Linked DNA regions of Homo sapiens: regions 1, 3 and 4 are each linked to region 2. The links are contacts of gene promoters, found by promoter capture Hi-C in blood cells and fetal thymus (Javierre and others, 2016). All regions are on one chromosome and are shown on one strand. Each heading gives the region's core, a stretch centred on a gene start or on the middle of the fragment in contact. The rest is flanking DNA. Distances are from core to core; before and after follow the strand shown.

Region 1 (2,700 bases), core at 102-2,601, 440 kb before region 2:
GACAGCCTGGATCTCACAAATCAGAAGGGCACAAACACAAGCTGGTCAGAGAAAGGAGCCCTCCAGGCACAAAAGCCGGCCCAGAGGCCCAGGGCAGAAGCTAGCTTGGTTCATGCAAGGCAAGAAAGGAGGCTGCGCTCAGGAGTGAGAAGCCAGCAGTCTCAGATGATGGGGAGGAAGCAAGGTAAGTAGTTGGGAATTTATTCCAAGTGTGACGGGAAGCCAATGGGGAATTCTGAGCATGGGAGTAGCACAGTCCAACTGCCATTTTTAAACATTACTTTGGCTGCTGGGAAGAAAATGGATTGCAGGGGAGCAAGAGAGCAGCAAAGAGCCCCACTGGGAGGCTGCTGCCATTTACTGACCTCGCAGTGGAGATTCAGCCACTCCATGCCCATCTCCAGGTTACAAGCCCTACCTCCTTTATTACAGGGCATCGGCACAGGCCATGTTTCCCTGTCCACCACCCAGCCACATACATAGGCAGCCAAAGCCAGTGCCATGCCTCTGATCTCCAATGCCCAGTTCCTAGCATACAGCAGACACTATGCTTGAATAAATGAAGGGTGCAGCTCTTAAGGCCACTTTCAATCTTGGAATTAGTCTTCTCAAATAAATACAAAGTCTCCTTCCAGTAAGAGTCTCTTGAACATGCAATCATTCTTTTGTTAACTTAGATGAAGCAAACAACACAATTTAAATGAGAGTTGGGGTCTATTTCTCATACTTCTACTTACAGTTTAGTGCTTTATAACCTCCACAAGACGTTCAATATGAAGCAGGCTTCAGGCTAACAGCTTATAAATATTTTTATTTCCCAATTTCAAATCTCTGAATTAACTTTTGGTCTTTTGCAGGCTGAACGTGGTGGCTCATGCCTGTAATCCCAGCATTTTGGGAGGCTGAGATGGGCAGATCGCTTGAGGCTAGGAGTTCGAGACAAGTCTGGCCAACATGGTGAAACCCCATCTCTACTAAAAATACAAAAATTAGCTGGGCATGGTGGCGCATGCCTGTAATCCCAGCTACTTAGGAGGCTGGGGCACAAAAATCACTTGAGCCTGGGAGGTAGAGGTTGCAGTGAGCCGAGGTCACACTACTGCACTCCAGCCTGGGCGACAGTGCAATACTCTGCTCAACAACAAAAAAGAATTAAAAAAAAAAAAAGGCAGGGGTCAAGAAAAGAGAGACTACAAATACACTGCATTTATGAAATCACTTGCAGTTGTGGAGGCCCTTCTACGTCCTCAGGCAATTCTGTATTTAGAAGCGGATATCTCAGAGCTGCCAAGACGTCAACATCCCCTCGACCTGCTGCCTCATCTGCACAATGCCCTCTGATTCTTCTTCATCCTATGAAGGCTGTTAAGTTCTCTTCCTCCTCAATATTTTCAGGGATTGCTACTGAGTCTGCCCAGGAAGTTTGGCTATACTTACTGGCATAACTACAGAAAATCATGTTTCAAAAACATAAACCTACAAGATTATATGGTGAATATTTAAACCTACTTGGATTATCATATGGTCAATATTGATCACAGGCTTTTATTTACTTACCTAAGTAATGTGGTGGATGAAATGACATAGGCTTACTAGTCGCTGAATAATATCCAATTGCTCTCTTAAATCGAATAACTTTGTCATCTGTTCTAGACTGAAATAAAGGCAGGAAAACCTTCATAAATTAGTGTGCCACTGGTCATGTGTATCACAATGTTTTTTATAATTCAGCACATGTATAATATTCTACAGCTTTTCAAGTTAGAGAAGAATTTTGAATGACATTAAAACTTTCAGGGAAAATCAATAGATTACTACAAAAGAATCAAACCAAACGTGAATTCTTTTAAAGCAATGTAGTCACAAGAGCAGAACTCCAAAGTGGTAGTCAGGGCCCTGGGTTCTAGCTCTAGGACTTCCCTGACTTCCACTCTGCTCGGTCTCTGGTCCTGCCCAGAGAGGAATCTCAAGCCATCTGTACCAAGGGAACGGATGGCAGTGACAGACTGGGGATGTTCCTGCCCAGGGTTTCAGCTCTCTCTTTTTCTTCTGAGACGGAGTTTCGCTCTTTCACCCAGGCTGGAGTGCGGTGGCATGATCTCCGCTCACTGCAGCCTCTGCCTTACGGTTTCAAGCGATTCTCCTGCCTCAGCATCCCGAGTAGCTGGCATTACAGGCGCCCACCACCACGCCTGGCTAATTTTTGTATTTTTAATAGAGACAGGGTTTCACCATGTTGGCCAGGCTAGTCTCAAACTCCTGACCTCGTGATCCGCCCGCCTCGGCCTCCCAGAGTACTGGGATTACAGGCATGAGCCACCGTGCCTGGCTGCATTTCAGCTCTCTAGAGACACAGCAGGAGTTTCACAGAGCCTTGCCTATTCTACTGATGCCAACTTGTTGGCACACCTACTTCCCCAAAAAAGAAGAAAATCCCTGACAATCACCTGAAGAAAACAGACAAATCAGAGATTTATAATGCCATATGACTGACTTGATACAGTTCATGTTCTGAAAACTCTGAAATACAGATCCTATTAAGTTAAGATCGAGAACTTATGAGCAGGAGACCTCACCAACCGTCTAACTGAATCTCCCTTTTATTCAGCCTGGAAAAGCTGGGTGAAGTGGCTGAGACTTCCTGGCTGGCAGGGAACATGACCAGGCTACCTCAGCCTCTGGCCTTGCAACCTGCAGCTT
Region 2 (2,700 bases), core at 93-2,592:
CACCCACGCCCCCAGGCTGTTGTGCCAGTAGAAGGGGCTCCTCAGGTAGTACCAGGCCCTGGGCAGGCCTTGCTCAAACACAGGAGCAAAAGTGCTCATCACCCCAACACCAAATTAGGGACTCTGGACATTAGGCTGCCAGAGTCAAACTAAATAAACCAAATCCACCAGCGCCAGGAACAAGTCTCAGCGCCCACTTTGCTGAGCTGCGGACCTCTGCTCGGTGAATTAGCTCCCTGAGCCGCAGTTTCCCCAACTGTGAGAGGAAGCCATTCTCCTGCCACCTTCCTGCCAGTTCCCTGGGGCTGCAGGCTGACAGTGTGACCTGGTCCAGCCCACCCCACTCCGGGCCTCAGCTTCCTCCTGCGCAGAGCCTTAGCCCCGCAACGCCTGAGACGCCCAGAACCCTCAGGCCTAACGTTCGTGGGCAGTGGCCGCGGAAGTAAGCTTTTGGGATATCTGAGACCCAGAGTTCCGGTTTGGTTCCGTTTCTAAAAGGGTTAGACTTTAGAATCATTCAAGGAGCAAGGCCAGCATTCGAACCCCGGAGCCTTGGGCACGGGAGCAGACAACTCTTTAAGCACATTCTTGAATTCAAACACTTAAAAGTAAAATAAAAAGCAGCTTCTCTTCCTTCCAAAGGCCTCTGAGCCTCCTCCGAGACAGCCGAGGCGATCCCAAGCCTGGCTACAGGGTGACCTCGGACAGCCACTCCCCTCTCGCAGGCTCAGTTTCTCCATCTGTAAAGTGGAGCTGCGCTGGTCACCAAGGAATCGTGAAGATGACACCTCCCTCAGGCGCAGAGAGGGCTCCCGGCTCCCCCCTCCCGCCCCCGCGCCACCCGCCCGCCAGGTGAGGCCGGTTTCGACTTCCCCGGGAGGGGCGCGGAGGGGCCCGGAGCCTGCGGCGTGGAGAGGCTTGGCCGGCCGCGCTGTCCGCAGACGCCCGGGACCAAGGCGCTGCGGCCACTCGGGAACGGGCGCGCGGGCTGCTGCGTGCAGCCGCCTGGTTTCGAACTGCTCGCTGCCAGGCTTCGGCTCCGCTAGGGCGCCTGCTGGGCCGGCGGAGGGTCGAGGAGGTTCGTCCTCGGGGCAGATCGTTGCTGTGGCCCCCACCCACGGCTGTGCGGCCCCGCGACCCCCTCCCCTCGGCTTTCCCGTCTGTGAAATGGGCGCAGAGCCCCGCACGCGGCCACTCGGCCCCAGCCCTCACCTGTGCGGTTCCCTGGGGCAGGCGTGGTGACCCCGGCCCGCCCCCGGGGCCTCGCCTTGCCACGGAGGGTGGCGGCCGCCCAGCGCATCCTGCGCGCTCCGAGGCGCTTGGCGGGGTCTGCCAGGGGAGTGAGCCCGGCTTGTGGGGGCGGGGCCTGGGCCTGGGCCTGGGTGAGGGGCGGGGAGGCCCCGCCCTCCACGCCCGCCCAGGGGCGGTTCCATGCAACTTACAGACCACGCCCACACGTTGGACTGGGGCCGAGGTCCGGCCGGGGGCTGTGGGCGGGGGCCCTTGGGGAGACCAAATACCCAGCGGGCCAAGGCAGCCGGCTGAGCGGAAAGTGTTGCTACTCCGGGGCGTTGCACGCGTGGCTACCTCTGCCCAACACCCTTCCCCCATCCCTTCCTGTTCTCACCTTCACTCCTAGTGTGGTTTTTCCATGTGCTTCTGTGTTTTTATTTTTTGAGCAGGATTTTGCCTTCTCAGGGTGCCGGATTCGGCCGGTACCAAAGGGCAAACAGCAAAACGCCTCCCCGGCCCGCCCCTCCCGTAACCCACTCACCCCCAGAGTCCTGTGTGGACCCAGCCTTCTTTCCCTGTCTCTCACTGGGCCAGGCCGTCTGAGGCACACTGAGGTCTGGGTGCCCTTGTTGTCTTCGGTTCTCACTGAGGGGCCCCCGGCTGGGGGAAACAGGATGGAAAGCCCTGGGGTCTGTCTGCAGGGCCCACCACACCTGGAGGCCTCCCTTCTCCTGGCTTCCCCTTCCCACCCAGCTCCACTTGCAGCAGGCCCAGAGCTGTGATCCGGGCTCTTTCTCTCCCTCTGACCCCACCCAACCCAGGCTTAGCCCCCTGCCCAGGCAGCCACCAAAGGGTTGGGTGTGGTGTCAGGCCTCAGACATCCTGGATCTTGGGCTGCTTGTGGGAGACCACCTGAGCCATGCCTATTCCTGTGGAGCTGGCAAAGGCAATCCTGGCAGAGGGAACAGCAGGTGCAAAGGCCCTGGTTTGGCAATGTGTGGCAGCAGAAGCCCAGTGCGGCTGGCTTAGGCATGCCTCCAGGAGCGCAGAAGGTGGCCCAGGTGGGCCAGGCTGGCTCTAGAGTGCCTGGCAGGTGACCGTGAAGAGTGTGGATGTTCAGGTGGACCATGAAGCAGGGTTCCAGCAGGGCAGCCCCTCCCCGTCTCTGCTTTCCGAGCCCTCCAAAGCTGAGGTTCAGTGTGAAACGTGAGGGGCCCTCCCCCTTTCGCCATCAGGGTTGGCGTCACCCCTGATATGTTCTTCCCACTTGGACTTGTGGGTCACACACGATGGCTTACTTCAATCTCCTTTATTCAAAATCAAGCATGTGTATTCTTTCTGCCATGTCGGGAAGGGCAGGGCCATCAGCAGTGCCCACTCCAGACCACACTCTGGGACCCCAGAATGTCTTGCCAAGTGGCCCCTAGCCCACCTCTCAGGCCTGTGTGGTCCCTTCCCTGGTTTTGC
Region 3 (2,700 bases), core at 72-2,571, 460 kb before region 2:
TGCACGGCCTGGCCCTGCCAAGTGCTATCTCCCTACAGAAGCACCAGTATCTGGGTGCCCTGACCAGGGAAGCTACAAGAGTCACAGAGACAGACACCTAATAGGTCTAGTCTCCTCATGCTCTAGTTAAGCTAACATCACACATTCAGTTTCCTTCACATAATGGGTGAGCTTAAAATGTCAGGAACACAGAAAGCACTTTTCCATGTGGCAGTCAGATGATGGCTCAAACTTCTTTCACAGCCTTGTTGGCACTTCTCGCTGTCATCAGAAGACAGTGTGACCAAGAAGCCCCAACTGGTCACGGAGCTATCCCCTTGCACCCCACAAGTGAGGGTTCAGAGACACCTAACTGTGTCAACACGTTTGTCTTAAGATCAATACGAAATGTCTACACAGATTAGTGGATGGCTAGAACACAACGTAATGATATAGATCACAATTAATTTTTGCCAACATATAAAATTCAGAATCACTTTTATGAGAAGATATTAGAAATGGTACCATGTGTCAAAACATAAATATAAAGTGGATATCTGTCTGGAACAAGAGCATAACAATCTGAAAGAAAAACCTACAGTTACACTAAAGTCATTCCCTCAGCCCCAGGCCTACCTACCCATGCCTCAGGATCCTGGAGCAGAGCACGATGGAATTCTCTTTGTGAAACACAAAGTTTTTTTGCAAGTAGAGTTGGAAAGGCCTTAAAGGACAAGAAAAACATTCAACACCATCTTCAAGCAAAAGAGGCACATCAGGCACAAACTTCCTGGGATACCAGATCAAAGGGAGCCAAATAAAATTCTTTTAGCTATTTTACATTAAAAACCACATCAGTGTTCTGATTTTCTAGCATACTAAGAGTTAATTTTTAAAAAGTAGTGATAGCTACCATTCATTGAGCTTTTTCATCAGCTAATTTAATACACAAACAACTCAGCAAACCTGTCACGCACATTTGAATGCTCTGAGGTTCTGCGAGCTTCAGGTCACAACATCACCTAGAAATACCAACCAAGAGACTCTGAGCAAACCGGTTCCTGCCAACAGCTAGGTCTCAGTGCTGCTCACAGAGCATGCTAACACCAAACAGCCTGCCTTCCTGTGGTTCATCTTTCACAGTCCAGATTTGGTCCAGGGAGTACATGTCATTAGCAAAAATTAACAGGGGAGGGGGATACAAGACTTATGCAAAAGATGCCTCCATAACACTACATGTCAAAATAAAAATAAATGTGGAGATGTCCTTGTTCCACAGGGCTTTCTCTCCTAAGATACATACATAAGTTCTCAAGAAAATGAAACCCATTTATACAAACAAGGTCACAAGGTGGAAAAAAACTCAGTCTTCTCTCTCAATAAGGACTTTTACATATCCATTTAAAAATGTCAGTAATTTTATGCAAAAATATTAAAGCAATAAAGTGGATGTATATAGATCTTATTAAATATTGGGTATTAAGTACATGTACATATTAATACTTACATGCACAAATAAGAATACATAGTTACGTAAGTATATTAAGGATAAAAGATGGAAGAAAAGGAAAAAGGGCAAGTTACTCTCCCTAAGATAGGACCTAGTTATTGTAAAAATCTTATTTTAGCAGATGCAGAGGAAAATAAGGTGCTTGAATATTCACCAATCTTTCAAATATAATTACCTCTCTAGAAGTAGGATCATGGGGAATTCTCTATACTGTATTGTCCAGTGTTTGAATTCTATATAACTTTGTATCAAGATGATAATTAGAAAAAAGATATAAAACAAAGAATTAAAAATTGTAATACAGTAACCTCAGATTTGATTCAGATTCTGCAAGTCCAAATGAATCTATGAAAATAACATAAAATAAACACCTCCACAAGGATTCAATTGTAATTTTTGTTTTGTTTTGTTTTTTAAACAGGATCTCACTCCGTTGCCCAGGCTGGAGTACAGTGGCACAATCTCGGCTCATTGCAACCTCCACCTCCCAGGTTCAAGCAATTCTCCTACCTCAGCCTCCCAAGTAGCTGGGACTACAAGCAAACACAACCACGTCCAGCTAATTTTTGTATTTTTTGGTAGAGAAAGGGTTTCACCATGTTGGTCTTGAACTTCTGACCTCAAGTGATCTGCCTGCCTCAGCTTCCCAAAGTGCTGAAATTACAGGCATGAGCCATTGCACCCGGCCTCAACTGTAATTCTTAATTCAACTGAAACAAGATTACAAACATCTGACAGGCACCAGGAAGGGAAAAAAGACAAGAATGTCACTTTAATTTTTAAAATTTAAACAAGAATAAAGCAAGTGTATGCTGGTACTGCTCTACTGTTCTAACAAAGGAACTGGAGGAGACATTACTTAGAAAGCCACACACTTCATTCCTTTTCTTTCTTTCCTTTTTTTTTTTTTTAAGAGACAGGGACTCATTCTGTTGCCCGGCTGGACTGCAGTGGTGCCATCATGGCTCACTACAGCCTTGAACTCCTGGGCTCAAGTGATCCTTCCGTCTTAGCCACCCAGGTTGCTGGACCCACAGGCACATGCCACCATGTCTGGCTAATTTTTAAATTTTATGTTGCCCAGGCTGGCTTCACGCAATCCCCCTGCCTCAGCCTCTCAAAGTGTGGGGATTAAAGCATGAGCCACCACATGTGGCCCCTTTTTCTTATTTTATTGCCAAACTGTTTTAGGCCTAGAATAACTGCCAGTT
Region 4 (2,700 bases), core at 180-2,679, 420 kb before region 2:
GTAACACATAACTCTTGTTTTCTTTCTCTCATTATAGAATTGACCACATCTTAGAAGCTATCTGACCCCTAACCCCATCCTACAATTTTACATGTTACATGAAATGGCCCAAGTGTTCTGAACATAAATGAAGTAGTCTTTGCATCTAAACCTAAGAAATTCAATGCCCACCTTACTAGCAGCTCTTAAGGTTACCATTGAGGTATGAAGAAGTCACCTTACATCCTATTTCCTACTGTCTTCTACCAATTTTAGGTTCTGAGTATGTCTAACATTGCATTCATAATCTAGTAATAAGCACGATCTACTACTAACTAATAAGGCAGGACAAAACAGAATTTGGCTCCCATCCTAGCTTTCCTCTCTGCAGATATTACCCAATGATTTAACAGTTGTTCTCCCTTGTGCTTCTGAGCCCGCAGAGCCCCAAAGCAGACGTGCTATTCTTTCAACACAACCAGGGCTGTGGACAGTCAGGGAGGACTTCACAATTTCTAACTGATGTAGCTGGTTCGATGACAGTCAGAGAGTTAAAAATTTACAGTGAATGAATGAATGCATGTAGTGAAATTGGTAAAGACACATGTTTAAAAGATGAGTCTAAGGATGCTACTTATAAAGAAAACAAAAATTCATAGTGCTGCCAACATACTGAAGATTTGGAATCACATAAATTATCGACTACTGATGACTTCCTATCCATGGTATTTTGTGATTTTCATCAGATGGTAAAAAGATGAAATTTTCTCATGATTTTTATTGGTTCCCTTTCTAACAGAGTATACTGGAAAAATAGCTGTTAAGGACACGTGACTTTGCATCCTCAAGCTTAAGCCTCCTTGGTCCATCCCTTTTATCATATTATATTTGTACTATTTTGCCAAAGCCAAATTTATTATTGTTCACAGAGGGCTGGTGTTCTATGAAGTTAATATCTAATCAATTCAAAGCACCTCTTAAAATGCAATACCCTACTTTGGGAGGCCGAGGCGGGCGGATCACGAGGTCAGGAGATCGAGACCATCCCAGCTAAAACGGTGAAACCCCGTCTCTACTAAAAATACAAAAAATTAGCCGGGCGTAGTGGCGGGCGCCTGTAGTCCCAGCTACTTGGGAGGCTGAGGCAGGAGAATGGCATGAAACCGGGAGGCGGAGCTTGCAGTGAGCCGAGATCCCGCCACTGCACTCCAGCCTGGGCGACAGAGCGAGACTCCGTCTCAAAAAAAAAAAAAAAAAAAAAAAAAATGCAATACCCTAATCTTAAACCTCTCATCATTTCAACATAATACAAAAACACAAAGAATATTTCAGAAAATAAAACTCAGAATATTATGGAAGATATGTAACAACTATCCAAATTTTCAAAAGATGCAATTGGTTTTACAACTGGGGAAAAACAAAGAGACTAAAATAGCAGGTGGGATACATACAATTCTGTAGCACATCCATCAGTCATGCTCATGGGGAGTAAAACCACATCCAATTTCCCCTATGTATATTAAAATCACTGAAATGGTGCTGCATACAAAAATGTGAATGAAGGGTCAAAACATTAAAGTGAGCCGGGTGCTGTGGCTCACACCTATAATCCCAGCACTTTGGGAGGCCAAGGTGGGTGGATCACCTGAGGTCAGGTGTTCGAGACGAATATGGACAACATGGTGAAACCCTGCCTCTACTAAAAACACAAAAATTAGCTGGCGTGGTGGCAGGCGCCTGTAATCCCAGCTACTTGGAAGGCTGAGGCAGGAGAATCACTTGAACCCTGGAGGCAGAGGTTGCAGTGAGCCGAGATCTCACCCCTGTACTCCATCCTGGGTGACAGAGCAAGACTCTGTCTCAAATAAAAACATTAAAGTGGCTAACAAATGCAATTTCTGAACTTATCTCAAAACCAGGTGCACTTGCATTTCATGTGTGACTTTAAAATCCTACAACGTATCAAGTCATCTGAAAAATAATTTAGGATTTCTTCTCCAATATGCCATAAAAGTACTCAGCTAATATCAAAATGCATGCATAAAGCTTGACTGGATCTCGATCAAAAAAAAAAAAACCTATAAATGACTCTGAAAAAATTTGAATATGGGCTTAATATTAAATGATATTAGACACTGCACTCCAGCACAGGTGACAGAGCAAGACCCTGTCTCAAAAAAAAAGATATTAAAGAATTATTAATTTAGTTGATGTCATAGGAGTAATATGATAAAGTATCAAAATGTCCTTATTTTTAGGAAGTGATGGAGCAAGCTGAAGTGGTGGAGCAAGCTGACATTTTCATGGGTAAAGTGTCATATCTGCAACTTACTTCCAAATAGTTTTTGTTAAACAAAACAAAACACAGACATATACTTTATGGCAAAATGTTTATAATTGTTGAACCAAGATGGGGGATATACGGATACACATTTCTCTATTCTTTCCACATTTCAATACTTAAAGATTTTCTCAACAAAATTTAGGAAAAACACACATATAATGATGTTATTCACTTGGCAATAGATTGAGCTGGTTTTCCAATAATTCTTCAAACAGCTCTTCACTTCTAACCCTGTGACATATGAAGCAGGGCTAGTTTAACTTAGACATACACATATAGCCAGAAACCTTGGGAGTATCTCACTCCTGCTCTTCAAAACAAAATAAATCTTGTAGGAAACAAGCTTTCATTTGTGTCTCACTTACAAAAGCATAATG

The links. Contacts are between HindIII fragments. The CHiCAGO score rates a contact against its expected background, and 5 or more counts as called.
Region 1: a fragment that was not itself captured here is called in contact with the fragment with the promoter of SUSD3 in region 2 in 3 of 17 cell types (neutrophils, monocytes and naive CD4 T cells); the score reaches 8.3 in neutrophils.
Region 3: a fragment that was not itself captured here is called in contact with the fragment with the promoter of SUSD3 in region 2 in 1 of 17 cell types (neutrophils); the score reaches 7.2 in neutrophils.
Region 4: a fragment that was not itself captured here is called in contact with the fragment with the promoter of SUSD3 in region 2 in 1 of 17 cell types (activated CD4 T cells); the score reaches 5.1 in activated CD4 T cells.

What each region holds. Positions count from the first base shown.
Region 1 is chr9:93,497,744-93,500,443 of GRCh38, reverse strand. FAM120A (family with sequence similarity 120 member A) reads right to left here. Exons shown (of 18, transcript NM_014612.5): 5 at 1,558-1,654. Among named protein-coding and RNA genes, the nearest start is that of FAM120AOS, 46 kb to the right of the region's middle. The HindIII fragment of the contact is 6,327 bases long and covers 1-2,700 here.
Region 2 is chr9:93,057,343-93,060,042 of GRCh38, reverse strand. It overlaps SUSD3 (sushi domain containing 3), which reads right to left and starts at 1,342. Exons shown (of 5, transcript NM_145006.4): 1 at 1,213-1,342. The coding sequence starts at 1,300. RefSeq lists enhancers at 1-266, 267-1,247 and silencers at 758-1,167, 1,178-1,627. The HindIII fragment of the contact is 6,174 bases long and covers 450-2,700 here.
Region 3 is chr9:93,521,283-93,523,982 of GRCh38, reverse strand. The region is part of intron 7 of FAM120A (family with sequence similarity 120 member A); the gene reads right to left. Among named protein-coding and RNA genes, the nearest start is that of PHF2, 54 kb to the left of the region's middle. The HindIII fragment of the contact is 5,654 bases long and covers 1-2,700 here.
Region 4 is chr9:93,477,636-93,480,335 of GRCh38, reverse strand. The region is part of intron 3 of FAM120A (family with sequence similarity 120 member A); the gene reads right to left. Among named protein-coding and RNA genes, the nearest start is that of FAM120AOS, 25 kb to the right of the region's middle. The HindIII fragment of the contact is 1,197 bases long and covers 831-2,027 here.